Regions from separate parts of the Homo sapiens genome. Here all the other regions are linked to region 1. The links are contacts of gene promoters, found by promoter capture Hi-C in blood cells and fetal thymus (Javierre and others, 2016). All regions are on one chromosome and are shown on one strand. Each heading gives the region's core, a stretch centred on a gene start or on the middle of the fragment in contact. The rest is flanking DNA. Distances are from core to core; before and after follow the strand shown.

Evidence for each region. The method cuts DNA at HindIII sites, captures the fragments that hold promoters and counts their contacts. A CHiCAGO score of 5 or more calls a contact.
Region 2: a contact is called between a fragment that was not itself captured here and the fragment with the promoter of SGPL1 in region 1, in 1 of 17 cell types (M2 macrophages). The highest score is 5.1, in M2 macrophages.
Region 3: a fragment that was not itself captured here is called in contact with the fragment with the promoter of SGPL1 in region 1 in 1 of 17 cell types (naive CD8 T cells); the score reaches 5.5 in naive CD8 T cells.
Region 4: a fragment that was not itself captured here is called in contact with the fragment with the promoter of SGPL1 in region 1 in 2 of 17 cell types (naive CD4 T cells and naive B cells); the score reaches 7.3 in naive CD4 T cells.

Annotation. Positions count from the first base shown.
Region 1 is chr10:70,814,334-70,817,309 of GRCh38, reverse strand. SGPL1 (sphingosine-1-phosphate lyase 1) reads right to left here and starts at 1,362. Exons shown (of 15, transcript NM_003901.4): 1 at 1,184-1,362; 2 at 430-499. The coding sequence starts at 456. RefSeq lists silencers at 947-1,056, 1,137-1,226, 1,247-1,566. The HindIII fragment of the contact is 12,143 bases long and covers 1-2,976 here.
Region 2 is chr10:70,427,034-70,429,977 of GRCh38, reverse strand. It overlaps EIF4EBP2 (eukaryotic translation initiation factor 4E binding protein 2), which reads right to left. Exons shown (of 3, transcript NM_004096.5): 3 at 1,360-2,944. Among named protein-coding and RNA genes, the nearest start is that of NODAL, 13 kb to the left of the region's middle. The HindIII fragment of the contact is 1,539 bases long and covers 842-2,380 here.
Region 3 is chr10:70,540,645-70,543,588 of GRCh38, reverse strand. It overlaps PALD1 (phosphatase domain containing paladin 1), which reads right to left. Exons shown (of 20, transcript NM_014431.3): 16 at 2,347-2,487; 17 at 2,055-2,126. Among named protein-coding and RNA genes, the nearest start is that of PRF1, 61 kb to the left of the region's middle. RefSeq lists an enhancer at 1,204-1,704. The HindIII fragment of the contact is 2,492 bases long and covers 122-2,613 here.
Region 4 is chr10:70,457,819-70,460,975 of GRCh38, reverse strand. It overlaps a transcript of PALD1 not described here. Among named protein-coding and RNA genes, the nearest start is that of NODAL, 18 kb to the right of the region's middle. The HindIII fragment of the contact is 792 bases long and covers 855-1,646 here.

The sequences.
Region 1 (2,976 bases), core at 113-2,612:
CGGTGGCTCACGCCTGGAATCCCAGCACTTCGGGAGGCCAAGGCGGGTGGATCACCACAGGTCAGGAGTTCAAGGCCAGCCTGGCCAACATGGAGAACCCCGTCTCTACTAAAAATACAAAAATTAGCCGGGCGTGGTGGCGTGCGCCTGTAATCCCAGCTACTCAGGAGGCTGAGGCAGGAGAATCGCTTGAACCCAGGAGGCAGAGGTGGCGGTGAGCCGAGATCATGCCACTGCACCCCAGTCTGGGCAACAGAGTGAGACTCCGTCTCCAAAAAAACAAAACAAAACAAAACAAAATAAAAGGTGGCAAAACGCTCAGCTACCAAAAGCAAGCATCAGAGGTGAAATCTACACACTGGGATCCTTTGGACTAAAAAAACGGAGACAAATGCCTTGGAACCAGGAGGATGTCTGCAAAAGGCTCACCAACATCAGAAGGTCTGTGCTAGGCATCTTCCTCTTCCAGCCTCCTCTCCGCGCTCCCCTTTTTCAGACTCTGTAAAAGGGAACCAGGTTTGTTTACTTCTAGAGCTTTAAACTGTCTCGCCAGCCCGCCTAGATTCGCCAGAGCAGCCAAGTTATGGTTCTCTCCCTCCTTTGAAGGCTCAGATTTCATTCCCAGATATCACAGTCCACCCCTAGCACCCCAGACCAGCGAATCAAAATCCTGCTGCAACTAGGTTTCCCTCCCACAGCTGATGAAACTAATCCAGACCCAGACTCCCACAAAGCATTCCACCCAGGTGGAAACTAGGGGAAACGCCCCGTCTGCGCGCGATCGGGGTGGGGAGCCCAGCCCAGGCCACCTAACCCGGGCTGAAGGTGCCGAGGCTACCAGGGTCCTGCCTCCTCCGCACTCCCTTCAGAATCAGCACGGCCTCGCTCTCGTTGTCACCCCTCCCGTCGGAGGACCAGCAAATCCTGGCCGCCCATGCCTACCCCGCGGCAGGCGTGGGCTCCAGACCCGCCCCACCGCGGCCCCGCGCCCGCCCGCCGTCCACTTGCTTGGACCTCAGCGGCTGGTGCCCACGCCTTCAGCCCGCCCCCGCCCCCGCCCCGGCCGCAGCCGCCCCGCCGCCTCTGCCCGCCCTCGGCCCACCCGGCCCCTGTCCTCTCCTCACCCCGCGGCGCCTCCGTCCCGACCCTCACCGCCCCCCGGAGCCCGCGGCGGCCCCTCCACCTCCTCACGCCGGAACCAGCTTCCAGTCTCCTTCCCTCGAGCACCCGGCCGGCTCCACCTCCTGCGTCTCCCTCAGCACGCGACGGACTCGCAGGCCGCGAGACCCAGGCTCCCCTGTTGCCGCCGCCGCCGCCGAGATTGGAGGCCCGGCAGCCGCCGGCCTCGCCCCTCCCGGAAATGGCTCCGGGGGCACCGGCCCGGCTCCCGGACCCTGGCGTGCGCGGCCCCGCTGCTACCAGCCGCGCGCACGCCCAGACCCGGGCCCCACGGCCTGTGCGCGCCGCCTACCGGCCAGGCAGCGGGCTGCACCCAGACCCTCCAGTGAATGTCTCAACCAGGCCGTCCTGGGGCGGCTGTGGTATCCCGACGGTCACCAACTTCTCTTCCAAACTGCCTTGGACAAAAAACTTTCTTGTCACATTTGGTCACTTGGAGCCTCCTGAGAGAGTAGGTCTGCAGGGCATTGTACAAACTAATCCAAAACAGCCACAGAGTTGGGTCTCTTTCCTGGGCCAGGGACTTCATTTTTCCATCGAGGTCAGTGGTGCCTGAAGAAAAGCAACAAGGAAACTTATTTAATGGAAATATCATCCTCATCCTCCCCTCCACCACTGCCCCCCCCCACCCCAAAAATAAAATGGAGAGCAGAGGCTACTCTGCCATCACTACTTTCATGAGCAGTGCTGGGAATCACCTTATACACAAGTGCAAGGGCCCACTGGGATCACAAAGGTCGCCTTCATTTCCAGATGAAAAAACTAAGTCTCAGCTGGGTGTAGTGGCTTACATCGGTAATCCCGGCACTTGGGGATGCTGAGGCGGGAGGGTTGTCTGAGCCCAGGAGCTCTAGATCAGCCTGAGCAACATAGTGAGACCCCCAACTCCAAAAAGAAAAAGAAAAAACTAAGTCTCACATAGGTTTCCCATGACTTGTCCAGGTTGTCATAACATTGCTTTAGTGGTAGCAGAAGGCAGTGCAGTTACATGGAACCAACTGGTCAGTGACCTGCATTCAAGATTTTTTTTCAATAGATTTTAAAATGACACCTAGATAGACTCTTGAAATCTCTCAAACAAAAATGACACTAATGAGGGTACCCAATTCCATCCCCTTGGAAAATGTTGCCATGACACTAAAATTAGGGCATCATCACTACCGTCATTATCCACATGTAGTGCTTTCAGGATGAAATGTACTATCACAGCTGCCCTCCTCTGCATACCCCATCGGCACTTCCCACTTCCCCAGCCATAATGGTTAAGGCCCTGAAAGACTATGAACAGGTTATCTTTAGGCCTCCTCACCCCCATTCCGTCAGAACTCCCAGACATTTCTACCATCCAGAGCCCCTGACTCAGGCATGAACACCCCCATACCCTTAGCCCCCTCACTACTATTCCCCAGCAGACATGCATTCTCAGTGTTTGAGGGTCAGAAAATGTTCTGGGGCCTCCTGCCAATGCCTACTCATCAAGAGTTGCTTTAGGGTTTCAGGTATGCCTTCCCATTCTCCATCTCCTACCCTTCTGCTTTAATTCTTCATCAGATCCCCCAGGAACTGCACACCTCCTCTCCATCTCCTTGTTAGTTACCACCCCCACATCCTTTAATCTAGAATCTGTGCACCCAGATGACTAGAGGGCAGGGTCACGTCTGATTCCTCCCTACACCCTAACACACAGTATGCAGTCTGCTCATTCTTCCCAGATGCTCAAACCAATGCAATCATATCGACTGATCCTTGCTTTGCCAAGAACTATGCTAGGCACCTTTACATACAAGCCTTATTTAT
Region 2 (2,944 bases), core at 362-2,861, 390 kb after region 1:
GTGACCCTGGGATAGCACCCCTAACCTGGGGTTTATCTCCGTCTTTAAGTCTTCCTTTTCGGTCCGGCGCGGTGGCTCATGCCTGTAATCCCAGCACTTTGGGAGGCTGAGGCGGGCGGATCACGAGGTGTGGAGTTTGAGACCAGCCTGACCAACGTGGTGAAACCCCGTCTCTACTAAAAATATAAAAATTAGCCAGGCATGGTAGCACGTGCCTGTAATCCCAGCTACTCAGGAGGCTGAGGCAGGAGAATCACTTGAACCCAGGAAGCGGGGGTTACAGTGAGCCGAGGTCGCACCACTGCACTCCAGCCTGGGCAACAGAGCAAGATTCAGTCTCAAAAAAAAAAAAGTCTTCATTAGCAGTAAGATCCTTACCTATCCTAATTGCCTTTAGGGCAGAGTAAAGGATGTAGGAAAGCGCTTTTAAGGTTTTGGTCCCATCTTCCCTTAAAGAGATCCTTTAGTCCTTCTATAGGTTCCATGAGTAGGTGGTAGCTGCAGTGCTCAAACCTGTTCCATTCCTAAACTTACACACTTGGAGGGAAGAGGAGAGGGGGCTGAATAATCTCTGGGTGTCCATGTCAACCGGGCTGTGCTTGAGTCCCTTAAATACTGTTTCCTGAGCTGAGTATACTAGGCACTGGGCTCTTTATGACATCAACTGGGCCTGACAACCACCTAGAAAAGTTGTTTCTTAACCTTATTTTAGAGAAAACTGAGGCTTGTAGAATAAGAATTCTGCTGGGTAATTTGGCTACTAAGCAGCACAGCTGGAACTGAAGCTGCCTGACTCCAAAGCCTGTGCCCTAAACCCCTAGACAGTTCCGATGGGAAAGCTTCCTCCAGTCCAGTTTTATTCTGTGGACCTCTGTGCACGTGAAAGAATTCTCATTCTCAGGACTAATACATGAAACCCGCTGGATTAGTTAACAGCAGGGAATCTGACGCTCATGCAGCACAGCTTGGTTTGAGGTAACAGGCATGATGGGCATCTAACCAGTGCTCCCAGGGGCACAGGCAGCCCCTCTTCTGAGAAAGGAAAAGTTGTTTGGGCTTCCTCAGGGCTGGCACTTAAGAGAAGGACATGCTTGGGTGCCGTCAGCCCAGCATATACATGTTCACCTGCAAGCTCCTGAGCACAGGACCAGGGTCATGCTCCCTGAGAGTCCCACCATCTCCTTTGCATACACAGGTCCACATTGACAAAGTGCATGCTCCGCAAGTGTGGAGAACTGACAGATAAAGAGCCAACTGCCTCTTACCTCTGCCCATCTCCCCCACCAGCTGAAACTCCTGAAATGTGAAATAACCTTAGCAGGATTTCACCAGAAATTTTTAAAAAATTAAAACACCAAGTTGATACTCAAGATCTTTACTGATTTAACTATAACAGCAACCATTGATGAGAATTTAATTTTTTCCTTAATTTCCAAACATCTGCTGGTTTGGAAGAATAGTTAAAATACAAAAACAACTGATCATGGAATCACACAGGACTGCCTCAAGGACTGCGTGGTACCCTCTGCTATCCATCCACACACAGTGAAATGGATGGGAGGGATGAGGGAACAACACATCATGGGAGACAAAGGGAAGACCAAGGAAAGTGCTGGCAGTCTCCGCTTTTCCATTCAGAATGGATGGAACTGGGCCGTTAGTGGCACTAAGACAGGGCAGGGCTATTTTTTTTTTTAAATAAAATATTTTAAAGATGCATAAAATGGACACCTTAGCACGTGAGTGTCCTCTGGGCTCTTCAAGACACCTTCTTTAAGGTTTACCCCTGGAGTAGCAGAGGGTCTCCTCACCCAGGTGGAAAGAGATGGGCTCCATCTGCAGATGAAGGAAAGGCACTGGCGCACAGCACTCAGCAATGTAGATACAGGCACCAGGTAGGAGCAGGATGGCTTACCCAGCAACCTGCCTCTTAGCTCCCTGCTAGTGTTCTTCCCTCCTCCCCAGTTTCCAGTTAAAAGTACCCTTGGCCTGGGCTTTAAAAAAAAAAAAAAAAAAAAGATTAAGCTGGAGAGAAAGGGGATACACTTGGGCAAGAATGGATATTTTGTGCTAGATTCATGGAATTTTCTAAGTGTCCAGGAGTTTTGGTTTTAAGCACCGGCAAGAGCTCCCTTTGGAAATTTCAGTGTGGCCAAATGATTATCAAGCATTGCAGCATCTCTGCCAGCCTCCCACCCTTAGAAAGGTGGCAGAGTGAGAGTTTAAATACCCTTGGAAATGTGTTTCATCTCAGTAATATTTCCACTGGGTATCCATGACATACAGTATGGTCTGCCAGGGCTGCAGGCAGAGAGCCATAAGCAAAGAGAATCCACAGACCCGCTGAACAGGGACTCAAGCCTTCTCCTAAATCTAAGCTTTGCCAAAAGGTTATCAACTTCCAGGACCAGCCTAGAGAAATAAATTTAAATTCCAGAGAGTAGGCTAGGTGATGTAAGTGACTGACTGAAAAAACAAGTATCAATAACTCTTAAAGTTTTCAGTTAGAAATTTCTGTAAGTTAGCCTCAAGAAACTCCACTACTAAACTGGAAAACCATGACTAGGAACAGGAAGCGGCCCTGGGGTAGAAGCATTCTAAAGAATTGTGACCCAACTGCATCAATATCTGATTTCATCTTTTATTAAAAGCTGAGAGTTAAAGAACTGTAGGGATAACTAAGTCCACCTCAAAGTCCAGACAGAAACTGCCCTCCCAAAGAAACAATGTTTCTTTAAAACAAATACCACACCTTCCCAGATATTATGGGTAGGTAAGTGACTAGGTTTTGCAGATTAATCTATAGCTGCCCATGTGCATGTAGTCCAGAAAACATGCCAAGAAGGAAGAGCTCTGAACCAGACACAGAAAGGCAGTGTGGCTTCCTCGCTCAAGGGGAATGCAAAGGGCTAAGAGCCCTGGCTTCAAGCAGCTGTTATCCTAG
Region 3 (2,944 bases), core at 118-2,617, 270 kb after region 1:
ATAAACTTAGATAACCCTCACCTCACACCATATAAAAAAAACTAACTCAAAATGGATCAAAGACCTAAACCTAAGAGTTAAAAACTATAAAAGTCTTAGGATAAAACACAAGGGAGAAGCTTCATGACATTGGAGTTGGCAATGATTTCTTGGATATAGCACCAAGGGCACAGGCAACAAAAGAAAAAACAGACAAACTACATCAAAATTAAAAACTTTTGTGCATCAAATGACACTATCAATGAGTAAAAAGTCAGCCCACAGAATAGAGAACATATTTACATATCACCTCTCTTATAAGTGATTAGTTTCCAGAATATATAAAGAACCAAAACTCAACAACAATCCAATTCAAAAATGGACAAAGGACTTGAACAGACATTTCTCCAAAGAAGATATACAAGTGGCCAATAAACACATAAAAAGATATTGAACATCACTAATCATTAGAGAAATGCAAATCAAAGCCACAATATACCACTTCATACCCAGCAGGATGGCTATTATCCAAAAAAAAAAAAAAAAAACGGCTGGGCACAGTGGCTCCCAGCACTTTGGGAGGCCGAGGCGGGTGGATCATCTGAGGTCAGGAGTTCGAGACCAGCCTGGCCAACACGGTGAACTCCCATCTCTAAAAAAAACAGAAAAAAGAAATCAAGTGTTGGTGAGGATGTGGAAATATCAGAACCTTTGTGTGTTGCTGGTGGGAATGTAAAATGGTGCATATACTGCGGCAAACAGCATGGTGGTTCCTCAAAAAAGTAAACAGAATTACGATAGGATCCAGCAATTCCACTCCTGAGTATATGCCCAAAAGAACTGAAAGCAGGGACTCAGCTACGTGCACTATGCATTTCATAGCAGCATTACTCATGACAGCCAAAAGGTGGAAGCAAATAGTGTCCCTTGATGGAGGAATGGAGAAACAAAATGTGGTCTATCCATACAATGGGATATTATTCAGCCTCTAAAAGGAAAGAAATTCTGACACATATTACAATGTGGGTAAACCTTGAGAACATTATGCTCAGTGAAATAAACTAGTCATAAAACACAAATACTGTACGATTCCACTCATAGAAGATTCCTAGAGTAGTCACATCCATTGAGACAGAAAGTAGAACAGGGGCTGCTGGGAGGGAGGATGGGGAATCATTACTGAATAGGAGAGCAGAGTTCTGTTTTGCAAGATGAAGGAGTTAGATGGGTTGTGGCAACAGTTGCACAACAACGTGAATGTACTTAACACCACTGAACTGTACATTTAAAAATGGTTGAAATGGTACATTTTATGTTATGCATATTTTACCACATAAAGAAAAGGAAAAAGGAAAGAATCAGAGAATCAGCCAGAAGAAGGAAGGGAGAAGGCACCGCATATGCAAAGGCTGCAAGAGCTTAGCAAGTGTGAGGTGCTGCATGGCGGTCAGGGCCTCAGGACTGGGGCGAGGGCAGGGGAGGGGCAAGTGGCGAAGTTAACCAGTAAGACACGAGCCAACTGTGCTGCTGACTGTGGGTCAGCCATGGGCCAACTCCGAGGGACGTTGCCACGACTCTCGGGATGCCTGAGAAGATGGCCTGTGGCATGTGGCAGGTGCACAATACATGGATGACTAAATCTGGAATGTTTGTGGCTGGCCATCCAGTGCCCTAATCTGAAATAGAGGAACAGGCAGGGCAAAGTAGGCTGGGGACCCACACAAGGTCACCAACCACAGCTGGGTTGAAGGTGCTGGGAGGTTGTTATCAACATTACCCAGACAAGACGGTGGCCAGTGACCTCCCCAAGGCACACAGCAGCCCAACAGCAAGGCCGGGCAGGGAGGGGTCCAGCCCACATCTCCATAGCCGGCCGTCTGCCAGGGCCTCAGAGCCAAGCTGTCCCATGCCTTGCTGGGCTCATCTATAAAATGGGAACAGGGAAGCACTGATATGATGAGGTGGCAGACGTGACTGCATTGGGACGTGCTTTGAGGACCCCTAGACCGGCAAGCAGGAGTCCTCCTCCTCCTCCCATCCCAAGGTGCCTCAGGGACCCCGCAGGGCATGCTCACCTGAAATTCACCCTTAGTGAACTTGGCATCAGGCACACTCACGAGCTCCTCCTCACCCACCTCGGGGAAGCCCTGAGGGAAGACAGCTGCTGAGACAGAAGCCCCCTCCCAACGCCAGGAGCCCCTTGCTGGGGAGGACTTGGGGGCTGCCCAAGACTGATGGAAGGGGCTCTGGGACCACACCCGGCTGTCTCTGCCCCTCACACCCTCCTGTGGAGCCAGTGTGCCTGGGACCTGAGTGTCTACCCTCCTCCAGGCAAATCTCTAATCTCACTTGAGAGGCCACACGTACTTGGATGTGCCAGAAGGCCAGGACAGCCACCACCATCGCAGTTGTGGTACGGCCCTGGCCGCTGAGGCAGCTGAACACGAAGCCAGTGCCTGGGTCCTTGGAGAGGGCGGCCCGCAGGGCCTCCAGCAGCTGGTCAAAGTCCTGGACGAGAAAAGCAAGGTCTGGGTCAGCGGGCGTCTCTTGGATGCACAAACCCCAACAGGGTCCCCATCCACATGGCAGCCCCAGCCACTGTCCTCGGGCCAGAAATTGTCAGGCTCCCAAGCTTGCACACACAAACAAAACTCACCGGGGTGCATGAGACCATGTGCGTGTAAACAGCTGCACCTGTGCAGTCGTAATCACCCTCACACCAAGCACCTGGACAGGATGTGTGAGCCAACACAGCATGCACCTGGGGCTCAAGGTACCCACCCTCCATCAGGCAGGACATGCACCTGTATGTCACCCCTGTGTACTGCGCCCCTGGGCTGCACATAGACTGCTGGCCCTGCCACCCACCTGAGCTGGACCCAGCCCTGGTCCCACCATGGACGGGGGCCTGACCTCAGAAGAGCCCTGCAGCACAAGGCCACCAGGAGGCAGCAGACCGCAGGCA
Region 4 (3,157 bases), core at 1-2,500, 360 kb after region 1:
TCAAGTGATTCTCCTGCCTCAGCCTCCCAAGTAGCTGGGATTACAGGCGCATGCCACCACGCCCGGCTAATTTTTGTATTTTTAGTAGAGACGGGGTTCTCCACGTTGGCCAGGCTGGTCTTGAACTCTTGACCTCAGGTGATCCGCCCGCCTCGGCCTCCCAAAGTGCTGAGATTACAGGCGTGAGCCACCTGGCCCGGCCTGGAGCTTGTATTTCATCCTACAGGCAATGAGAGGCACTGAAGGGTTTCAGTGAGGGGAGTGATGCCATCCCATCTAGCTCCTGAGAGGAGTGGATTCTGGGGGGCCAGGGTGGAGGCAGGGAGGCCTCCACAGTTGTCCAGGAGAGAGATGATGGTGGCTGGGACCAGGTGGTGACAGAAGAGATGGGGAGGAGCAGGTGGATTCTAGAGAGCCATTTTGGAAGTGGGATCCACATGGCTGGTATGAGGTTGGATGTTGTGGTGTTGAGGGAGGAAGGAATCAGGAATCAGGGGCTTGGCTGCAGACAGAACGCTGGAGAAGGCGCAGAGGAGTTCAGTCTTGATGAATGGAGCCGGAGATGACTGTGAGGGAGCCCACGGGAGACGCACGGTAGGCCGGTGGGTGCAGGGGTCCAGAGTTCTGAGGACTGGTCTGGGGTAGACAAAGGCCGGGCACCATGGGCATTGGTGGCTTTTAAGCCCCAGGATGGGTGAGACCCTCCAGGAGAGGCAAGTAACCGCAGGGGAGAAGAGAAGTCGAAGCACAGCCTTGGAGGGCGGGCTTCGAGGGGAGGGGAGGCCTGGGGCAGGGGGAAGAGGCTCAGAAGACAAAGAGGACTGAGCAGGGGCCCAGACGGCGGAAGGGAAGCTTAGCCGCACGAAAGCTAAGAGGTGGGGAGCATTTCAATCGTGTCAAAGGCTGCTGTGCGGCCAGGCAGGGCTGGAGCCAATTTGGTAACACGGAGTCTCTCCTATACAACCCAAGCCAGGGCAGACGCCATGGTGGGTGGAGGCAGGAGGCACACAATGGAACCGGGTGAAGGGTGACCGTGAAGCGGGGAGTGTAGGCACCACGGACAACTGCTGTGGAGAAGGTGCGGCAGCTGGAGGGGAGAGGGCTGGCTGTGAAGATGAGGGCACAGGGCAGAGTGGCGTTCACCTATGGGGTGGCTGAGGGGGAGTACGTGGGGGAACGGAGGACAGGCAGGGCTCCGAGCTTTCCAGCCTCTGTTCCTTCCACTTTCACCTTGTGTCTGCAGTTACCCCATAATAACCACCCCTAACTCAGATGAGGACAGCTGAGTCCCAGAGAAGATCCCAACGTCACAAGGCGGGGGCTCTGCCTAAGCTGGCTCCGCGCACAGCAGGCTGTTTGGAGTCTGCCAAGACTCATGCAAAGGTCATGTGGGCCCCTTGACCAAATCTGGACGTCCTTCCCTCCATGCCAGGTTGGCACTGCCCAGCCCCAGCAACCCCCCCATCCCCACCCATCCGAGGCAGTGCCACAGAGGACAGCAGACAGACCAGGCACGGTCAGAGAGATCCATTTTGAAGGGGCTTGACCCTCCTACTGTCGCGGGAGGGGGCTTTTAAAGGAAAAGAACACAAAAATACAAATGCAAAAATTAGGTCCGGGCCTTGCAAGGGTCTGAAACTTAAGCTTCAATTAGCCTCAGGGCAGCTCCGCCTCTGACTGCAGTGACCTTGAAGAAGTGACTTCACCTCTCCGAGCCCCGGTTCCTCATCTGAAAAGGGAGCCGTCAGTATAGTGCCAGCGGGAGGGCTAACTGAGGTAACTGTGCAAAATGTTTATCACAAAGCAGCGTCCCAGTGAGCGATGGACAAACGGTGGCAGTGGCTCTTATAAACCGGGCTCCCTGGGGCTTGGAGTGGGGTGGGGTGGGATGGGGGAAGGGTGAAGCAGTGGGTGGGCGGATGGCGGGGGATAAAGGTGGGGGAGCCGCTCTCTCCCTGAGCCCAGGAACAGCAGTAATCCCTTGGTTTAGCAGTGCAGCACCGCGGTAAGGCGGTGATGGTGTGCGGGGCCCATCCTGACTCTCCTGCCCACGCACCAGGCCTCGCCTGGCACCAAATGGGGGCCCCCCGCGTTTGGTGGCGCCCCACAATTTACCAAGCAGGCACATCCCACCCTTCCCACCAGCAGCAACAGAATGAGGCCACTGGACAGAAGCCCAGCGAGGGGACGGGACAGATGGGAGGGGACACATCCCGCTGAGGGCAGAGCCCTGGGTAACCCCCACCCCGCCCGACCACAGGGCCTGGGCAGGAGCTCGCGCCGGAGCGTCTCTGTCTCACTAGGCTCTTGTCCCGGCCCCGGCGGCGGGACCGGCAGTGCGGGGAACAGGGGAGAGGGGCGGGTCCCCCTTGGCGGCGACAACGCCACCCGCCCGGCGGGAACACTCACTGCCGCCTCCAGCCTCGGTCTTCTTGCTCCGCAGCCCGTCTGCTCTTCGGCTGACTCACCCGGGTCGCCCTCCGCGCGCTTTCCCACGAGGGCGGGCGCCTGGGCCTCTGCCTCCAGCCCAGCCGGCCGGCCTGGCGCGCTCACCTCACCGGGCTCCGTAGGTCCTGCCATGCCTGGGGCCTCCGCTGAGCGCCTGGGCTGTGCCAGGCGCCCGGCCAGGCGCGGCGGGGCGGGCGGGACTGGGCACCGCGCCGCACAGACCACTATGCCCCTTCGCTGCAAACAAGATTGCGAAGCTAGAGGCAGGCAGGCAGGCACGCCGACTCCAAGTCCAGTGCTCTTTTCCTCTGCCTCAGCCTCCTCCTGCTGACAGCAATCAAGAAAAGTACCCTTTCCAGCCTCATTTATTAAGCATCTATTACGTACACCGGGCACTGAGTGAAAGGGTCCAGAGGGGGCTTCTGTCCCCTGGAAGCTCACAGTCTAAGAGAAGGTGGATAACAGGGAACACGGTGTAAGGACCCTGAGAGAGGCTGACTGGGCTGGAGAAATCCTCCAGGCTGGCTTCCTGGAGGAGGAAGCCTAAAGAATTAAGCAACTTTTTTTTTTTTAGGCGGAGTCTCCCTCTGTCGCCCACGCTGGAGAGCAGTAGCGAGAACTCGGCTCACTGCAACCTCCGCCTCCCGGGTTCAAGCGATTCTCCTGCCTCAGTCTTCTGAGTAGCTGGGATTACAGGTGTCTGCCACCA